3 separate regions of the Homo sapiens genome follow, and regions 1 and 2 are each linked to region 3. Evidence: promoter capture Hi-C in 16 types of primary human blood cells and fetal thymus (Javierre and others, 2016). All regions are on one chromosome and are shown on one strand. Each heading gives the region's core, a stretch centred on a gene start or on the middle of the fragment in contact. The rest is flanking DNA. Distances are from core to core; before and after follow the strand shown.

Evidence for each region. The method cuts DNA at HindIII sites, captures the fragments that hold promoters and counts their contacts. A CHiCAGO score of 5 or more calls a contact.
Region 1: a contact is called between a fragment that was not itself captured here and the fragment with the promoter of AK7 in region 3, in 1 of 17 cell types (fetal thymus). The highest score is 5.3, in fetal thymus.
Region 2: a fragment that was not itself captured here is called in contact with the fragment with the promoter of AK7 in region 3 in 1 of 17 cell types (total CD4 T cells); the score reaches 10.1 in total CD4 T cells.

The regions. Positions count from the first base shown.
Region 1 is chr14:99,685,545-99,688,358 of GRCh38, reverse strand. All of the region lies in intron 1 of CYP46A1 (cytochrome P450 family 46 subfamily A member 1), which reads right to left. Among named protein-coding and RNA genes, the nearest start is that of CYP46A1, 2.7 kb to the right of the region's middle. The HindIII fragment of the contact is 3,529 bases long and covers 1-2,814 here.
Region 2 is chr14:99,456,875-99,459,684 of GRCh38, reverse strand. It overlaps SETD3 (SET domain containing 3, actin N3(tau)-histidine methyltransferase), which reads left to right. Exons shown (of 13, transcript NM_032233.3): 5 at 500-572; 6 at 1,150-1,406. Among named protein-coding and RNA genes, the nearest start is that of SETD3, 23 kb to the left of the region's middle. The HindIII fragment of the contact is 3,071 bases long and covers 1-2,810 here.
Region 3 is chr14:96,390,850-96,393,549 of GRCh38, reverse strand. AK7 (adenylate kinase 7) reads right to left here and starts at 1,422. Exons shown (of 18, transcript NM_152327.5): 1 at 1,291-1,422. The coding sequence starts at 1,395. RefSeq lists a silencer at 1,353-1,862. The HindIII fragment of the contact is 12,427 bases long and covers 1-2,700 here.

The sequences.
Region 1 (2,814 bases), core at 227-2,726, 3.3 Mb before region 3:
TGAAGCAGGAAGGGAGAGTAGGCGAATAAACGCCCTGGGGAAGGAAGTACGGGGTGGCCGCCTGCCCGCAGTGGAGGCCCACGCCAGGTGAGTGGCCTTGAACTTGCAGGAAGATGGGCTGTGATCATCACACATGCCTGGATGTATTTCCAGAGTAATCTAGTGTCCTCATTGTCGCTTCCCAAAGCTCACATTCTGGGGGAATGTTCTCAGTTTTGAGTCACTTAAGTGAGGACAGAGTCTGAGCCCAGAGCTTCCACCCTAACCCCTGGGGTTCCCTGCCACATGGGAAGGAAGGTGAGTGCCATCTCAGGAAGACAGAGGGCACAGAGAGGGGTGGGGTCCTCATGGCCCACCAAGAAAGGGGAAAAAAAACCCATTCCTTCTGGCACCTGCAGGGGGCGCTGGGGAGGCGACAACAGAACAGGAAGACCCAGGTGTTAAAAACAAGCAGGTAAGGCTAACACCATGGCCAGACATGGGGACTTGTTGCTCAGCGCCCCGGCAGGCAGAAGCCCACTTGGCATGTCCCTGGTGATAGACTGGACACAGCAGAGCAGCCCTGGGAGAGAGGAGAGGCAATCCCCCACCGCCCACCACCCCACACCTCTCCAGCACATCCAGTTTCCTGCAACATCATGATTGGCTGAGTGGGGACCCAAGCTCTCCTGTGGGCAGAGAAAACCTTGGCCAGTGAACGAGGAGAGGCCATCTGGAGAGCCCACAGTGAAGTCACCCAGAGGGATGAAGGGAATGCTCCAGTAGTGGAGGAGCGGGCTACCCACTAGGGGTAGGCGTGAGGGTGAGGGACCATGATTGTGGCTCATGCCAGAGGGGCAGGGTGGCGAGTGCTCAGCTGGGCACCCAAAGCTCATCAGATGCACCACCCGCCAGAGCCAGCTGTGGGGCTCCCCCATGGCTGGCCACCCTGCTCCTTGCTGAACAGCCCCACCCCAGCAACTGGGCAAATCGGAGTGGAACCAGAACTGTCCAGGAGGAGTCAATTTATCCCCAAATAAATAAAAATTGGGAGAGAAAGACCTTTCATTGTCAAGTTTACATCCACTCCCACATTACCAGGAGAGTAGGGGCTGATGAGGGAAGTTAGAACAGTGACAGAGAAATAAAGAAGCTACAGGTGTTTGTGTGGGATCTGAGTGTGGGGGTCTGAGTTTTCAGCTGTTACACGGATCGGTGCAGTAGGATGTGGTAAGAAAAGCACAGAGGAGGGGCACTGAGGGAGGGCCTCCTGTAGAATGAGGAAGATGAAGAGTTGCCTCTTGCAGCGAGAGGGTTCCTTGCCTGCCAGCTGGCAAAGCCCTGGGGTACCCGGGGGCAAATGCTACTACTGGAGACTCAACACACAGATCTCTCGTCAACCACAGTATCGCCAATCATAGTTTAAAGATCCAGGCTTTTAATGTCAAGGCATCGGGTTTCTGCTAGAAGAGTTTCCAGAACTTTCATTTAGTGCAGTTTTATATTTGACCACTAACCAATTTTTAATCCAAAATCTTTTTATATATGCATTGTTCAGTTCACCTCCTTAGAATAAATAGCCCAATCATGATTATATTCATCTTCCTCCCACTGCTCCCTCCGCACCCCACACACTCAGGTCACATGTAGACTCTGTGGTATAAGATTTGGGAAGAATTTAGCCATAAGAAGGAAAGCAATAAGGATACATGCTACTACATGAATGAACTTTTGAAACATTATACTAAGTGAAAGAAGCCAGACACAAAAGGCCACATATTGTATGATTCCATTTATATGAAATGTCCAGAACAGGCAAATCCACAGAGACAGAAAGCAGATTCATGGTTGCCAGGGCTGTGAGGGGTGGGAGAAAATGAGGAGTGATGGCTAATGGGTACGGGGTTTCTTTCTGGGGTGACAAAACAGTTCTGAAATCGGTGGCGATGGCTGCACAGTGCTGTGAATGTACCAAAAACCACTGAATCATACACTAAAGAATACATTTTGTGGAATGCAAGTTACATTTCAATTTTTTTTAAGATGATTTAAATTCTGCTTTCTCAAGACACAGAGACCAGAACAGGTCATTTGAGTTTATGAGAAGACCAAGTAACGATGAAACTTATCAGAACAAGCACCAAACTCATTCAATTCTAAGTGCTGATGGCTTCTCTGAAAACTTGAGAGGGTGATAGTGTCCACCACGGAACTCACGGGAGATTTCCACCATTCAACCTTGAATTGCTATTCATAGAGTGTCTACTATGCATGTACAATGTGCTGCTACATGTCGGAGATGCAGCAGTGACTGAGACAGACAGGGGGCCCATGGAAAAGAGACACTTAGGAAAAACTTGCACAAATAATTGCCCAATTAACATTATGCTGTAAAGGAAAATTACAGTGATTTCAGGGTTTATAAAATGAACATAATATTTTTGGGGGAGCAGGAGGAACCTCCCTGAGGAGTTAGCATTGAAGCCAAACCTGGAAGGCTGGGGGAAGAAGCATCCAGGTAAAGTAGAAGGCAGAGGAGCTAAGCAAGGAGAGAGAGAGAGAGCACCAGAAGGGCAGAGAGCCAGCAGGGAGAACAGGTGCCTCCCTATGTCACCAGCCACAGAGATCTTTCCTGAACCCATCAAGCAGAGATTCAGGCTTCTAACGCCAGTACATCTGGCTTGTGCTGGAGATGGGTGCCTTCCAGAATATTCATGTCCTGAGATTTTAAAAAGTGTGTCTAATACAATTGTTTATTCATTCATTCAACAAATATTTATTGAGATCTGCAACACGCCAGGCACTGGGGATACACAAGCGAACACAGAGTGTCCC
Region 2 (2,810 bases), core at 247-2,746, 3.1 Mb before region 3:
GTGATTTCACTAGTAACTGTTGTGCTTTAAAGATAAGTATGTAGAGGAAGGAATGTTACTCTGGCTTCAAAACTCAGTAGTAGTAGTAATTCACATCGACAGATTAGGGTTTTTGTTGGAGGCAGGAATTTTGTTTTGATTTGGTCTGGTTTTAGAACTTAAAAGTACAGTAAAGTATACAGTAAACGCCTTTATGCTCTACTCCAAATGTTATATTTGCTTCAGGTTAAAGTTGAAAGTCCCTTTTTTGATTATTTGCTTCTCAGCATATGTAGTTTTTAGTTTTTCTGTTGGAAACAGGATTTTAAGCTATACTTCTACTCATTTAACTATAAGATAAATGCTTACATTTTAAAATGTATTTGAATATTTATTTGAAGTGCTGATATGCAGCCTTAAGTTGTACTTCATGTGTGATTGGATTTCTGACCGTAGATATGGTTGGATTGAAGACTGTACCGTGTTTTGATGATTCTCCTATTATTATTTTTTTCCCTAGGCAGAAGAATTGTTTTTATGGGTTCCACGAAAATTGCTAATGACTGTTGAATCTGCTAAAAATTCAGTGTTGGGTGAGAATAATTTCTGACTCTTCAAGGCAAAGCACAAATGACAAAAATATGTAAAATTCCATTTTATGGCACTAAGGATAATACTTGGTTTTTCTCGACTGGCGAAATATTCCCTCAAATATGCATTAAGTGTTTTTCATTTAATGTTATAAAAAAGATGCACATGACCTTTATTTATTATTATTATTATTTTTGAGATAGGGTCTCGCTTTGTCACCTAGGCTGGAGTACACTGGCACCATCATAGCTCACTACAGCCTTGATCTCCCAGGCTCAAATGATTCTCCCACAGGTGTGCACCACTACATCTGGCTAATTTTTTTTTTTTTTTTTTTTTTGTAGTGATGGGGTTTTGCTATATTGCCCAGGCTGGTCTCAAAGTCCTGAGCTCAAGCAATCCTCCCACCTTGACCTCCCAAAGTGCTAGGATTACAGGTGTGAGCCACTGCGCCCAGCCTGTACCTGACTTTAAATGTTACAAGACCTTTTAGTTTTTCTGTAATTTGTAAACGTATATTTAAATGAAGTTTTTAAGAAGTTTGTGGAACTTACGCTGTTAACTTCTGGGTTAATTCAGGGCCCTTATATTCTCAAGACCGAATCCTTCAAGCCATGGGAAACATCGCACTGGCCTTTCATTTGCTGTGTGAGCGAGCCAGCCCTAACTCCTTCTGGCAGCCCTATATTCAAACCCTCCCCAGTGAATATGACACTCCTCTCTACTTTGAAGAAGATGAAGTTCGGTATCTTCAGTCCACACAAGCTATACATGATGTCTTCAGCCAGTATAAAAACACAGCTCGACAGTACGCCTACTTCTATAAAGTCATCCAGGTGAGCAGCTGTTTGCAATTTAAGTATATATTTCACAGAGTGGGGAGGAAAGAGGAATTGAGTCCATAAATATTCCATTTGATGTCTTATTAAGGATACTTAAACATTTTACTTTTTAAATTGAAAATATAAAATACATTTCATCGTTTGTTTTTACAGAAATATCAATGAAATGCGGTTACATATATATATCTGATTTCATCAGTGCCCAGTGTTAATACAAGCAGCAGTTGTTCCTGAGTTATTGAAATCACCAAGTTTTTTTGTAAACAAAAGATCACAATGAAATTTTAAAAGCCTTAAAGCATATCTAATGCAATAAGTTACTCTGTGTATAAATTTTTCAAGAAAATGAGGGTTAATTTTTTTCTATATATGTTAGTGTAAAATATTGACAGTTAATTTAGCAAATTATAACATTTATGTTTTTCAACGTGTACTGTGTATTAATTTTAATTTGTTCTCAGTGAAAGTTTCTCATAGAAATCTCTATAAGGCTCCAAGTATTTGAATTACCTGTGATGACACCTTTCTGTATTTTGGTGGTGTGGCCACCGTTATCTTTCATTTGCAGTTGAACAGCAGTCAGAAGGAACAGGGCCAGTACCACAGTCCCCACCAGGACTGAGAGGCAGTGTGGCTCCTTCTCCTGATTCTGCACAATCTGAATCACTCAAGAGTCAGCTCCTGGGCTGCTGTTCTTGAGATACGACAAGTGGGCAGGTGAACTACTTGCTCGCTTTCCTTGTCTTTGGTTGGTGTGACAACCTGAATTAGGTTTGATTTGGTTGTTCCTTAAATGGTCTATCCTTGCTATGTTTTATTTGCAAGAAGTGGTAACCTCATTTCATTGCTACAGGTGATATTGCTTTCCGTTTATTATTTTCACTTTGTAGCATGCTTACTACACAAGAATGTTACACTCAGTTACATCTCCTCCTCCAGCAAGCACTTCAAATATGTCAAAAATTATACATGACTGTTGTCTTCATGTGGAAATCAATCACTCGGTTTTTCTAAACTTTAGGAAGTCATTAGGAATGGTCATACAGTATGTATATAGCTTTTATTTCAAGTTGGCTTAATTTAAAAACTATTGATGAAGCCAAATCAAAACTTTGCTTCTTCATATAGTGTGCACCTGCAGTCCTGCAGTCTAAGGTTGGTTTGGCTCTTCATGACCTGGAAGGGTTATACTTTTATTCTTAGTTCTCAATGGTATATCTTTCATGACTAAAGGTTAAGCTGACTTTAGTAGGTCTAAGTATTTGTCATTTTCTCTTGCTGGACAATGAACTACAAGCTGGCCCTTTTTACTAATGTGCTTCTAGTTTGCAAACGCTGGTAGCCTGCTCTGAGAGGACTCTCTTCTGTTGGCAGGTTGGAGGGTCTAGGATGATGGCA
Region 3 (2,700 bases), core at 173-2,672:
GAATTATTGGCAACTACCAGAAGCTAGGAGAGGGGCAAGCAACAGTTCTTCCCCTGGAGCTTCCAGTAGAAACCAACCCTGCTGACACCTTGATCTTGGACTTCTGCCCTCAAGAACTGCGAGAGAATAATTTCTGTTTTATAAGGTCATCCAGTTTGTGGCAATTGGTTACCACAGCCCTAGAAAACTAATACAGATTGTACGTACTGTAGCCTCATCCTATTTTAAGCAGATTTGTCCTGTTCGAAAGTGCAGTCATTAGCCTCAGAGAAGTCTGTCCAGGGTGAGATTAGATTTCTCTGTAGCTCTAGAGGACAGAATTCAGATGGACGGGTCCTACCCACAGGGAATGATAAAATCATGGCTTTCTTTTGACAACTGATCATATTAGCATGAAGGGCCCCAGAGCCCTTTTTCTGAATATCTTCATTTTCCAGGGATAAAGACACAGAAAGGTGAGGAAACTTAATGGAACTCGGGGACCCAAACAGTGTCTGGTCCATAATAGATGCTCAAAAACCATATATTGAAGGGATGGATGAATGAAAAACGCTTCATGGGCAATATAAAAATTTGATTTACTCACGCCTGTAATCCCTTTTGGATTTACTCGGCCTGTAATTTGGGAGGCCGAGACGGGTGGGTCACGAGGTCAGGAGATCGATCGAGACCATCCTGGCTAACACAGTGAAACCCCGTCTCTGCTAAAAATACAAAAAATTAGCCGGGCGCGGTGTCGGGCGCCTGTAGTCCCAGCTACTCGGAGGCTGAGGCAGGAGAATGGCGTGAACCCGGGAGGCGGAGCTTGCAGTGAGCCGAGATCGCGCCACTGCACTCCAGCCTGGGCGACAGAGCAAGGCTCCGTCTCAAAAAAAAAAAATTGATTTATTTTCTCGTTTAGCTGCCTGCTTCAAAATCGATGGAAGGGTAGAAAGAGAACCTAGGAGGGGGCAAGAGACCTGGAGTCTCTGTCCAGGTTCTGGCCTCAACTCTCTATGTGATCTTGGGCAAGTCCCTGCCTCTTAGCCTCAGTTTCCCCTCATTAAAAGGAGGAACAGGGGATGGACCAGTGATTTCCAGACACCTGAGCTTCCATGTAGAATCTCTTGACCAGCCTGGGTGCGGACTGGGGTCCAGGGGGCATTGGTGGTGCCCAGGACGCGGGACCCTCCCTGAGGAAAGGCCCCGACAGCGCCCTGGGGCGCAGACCCTCGCTGGGTTTGCGGACCGGGGGCCGAGGGCTGGGAGCTGAGAGCTGGCGTGAGGCTCTGGGCCGCCGCCGCCGCTCACCTTCCCGATGTTTCCGCTGCTGTAGGAATCCAACAGGTTTATAAACACCCTCTGGGTCCGGATAACCTTCTCCGTGAGAGCAGCAGTTTCCTCTTCTTCAGCCATGGTGGGAGCCGCGCTGGTTGCTAAGGTGAAAGCGCCACTCGCTTGCCAAGGAGGCGGGGCCCGGGCCAGGGAGGCGGGGCAGGTTCTCTCTGGGGGCGGGGCCTTGGCTCCGGGCAGTTTGCCGGGCGGGGAGGGGCGTGTCGTGGGCGAAGCAGGGAGTGCCGGGCGGGGCGGTGCGTGTCGTGCCCGGCGCTAATCAGGGCGTGCCAGGCGGGACGGGGCAGGCTGTGCCGGTCGCTGGGCGGGGCGTGCCGGGTAGGGCGGGGCGAGTCGTGCCGGGGGGTTGGGCGGGGCATGCCGGGCAGGGCGGGGTGTGTAGTGCAGTGGGCTGGGCGGGGCGCGCCGGGCGAAGCGGGGCTCAGGGCTCGCAACTGCGCGCGCTGTCGGCTGCTGGGCGCCAGGCGGATGTCCCTGCGAGTGCTTTCCGCGGCGCCGCGCGTGCAGCCCGGGTCTCACCCTGGCTTGCTGCCCACTGGGAGCCCTTGGGCAGTGCATGGTTTCTTTCCGAAGCTCCCTGGGCGTCTGTCCCGGGGGGCCATGTGATTGCTGTGCCTTTTTAATCTCCATTGTTCGGAAAGTCTGGAAACACATCCCTGTGTCCGCTTGACCCGATGACTAAAAATAATGAGAATTCTGAAGAAGAGGGAATGGCCCACAGCCTAGGCCTCTCCCCGACACGTGGGAGTTACTCAGCACGCTCCCATGGGGTGGTCTGGCCGGGGCGACGGGACGTAAGCCTCAGCTGCGAAGAAAAGCTGTTGCCATGGAGTTTCGGGCTCCCGAACACCCGAGCGACGCTAGCGTGGTCCCGCCTTGCGGCAGGTGCGGCTTGGTCCGCCGGCTCAGCTCCCTTGGGGGTTGTTTCCAGACGCACGTTCCGGGAAGACCCCTGGTGTCGGCTGGGGGCGACCAGAGCCCGTAGGCGCCCGGGATTCGCTCACATTCACCAAGGGAAGAAATTTAGACTTGACCGTTCCACAAGAGATTATACATGCAGTTGCTGAGATAAATCCACAAATTAAAAGATAACATTCACCTCGGTGATCACTGGACCATAAAGGTTGTGGTGGACTAAGAATACGCAGTTCCCTTGGAATAGCCTGATCATATTGAACTGTTTTCATGCCTTAAGCATTAACTCCTTAAATGCAAATATTTAACACTTGCAGCAATTGTGTGTGCGTGGTTTCTTCTCGTTCTTTTTATTATTTTTAATAGAGACAGGGTCTCACTATGTTTGTTGCCCAGGCTAGTCTCTAACTCCGGAGCTCAAGAAACTCTCCTGCCTCGTCCTCCCAAAGTGCT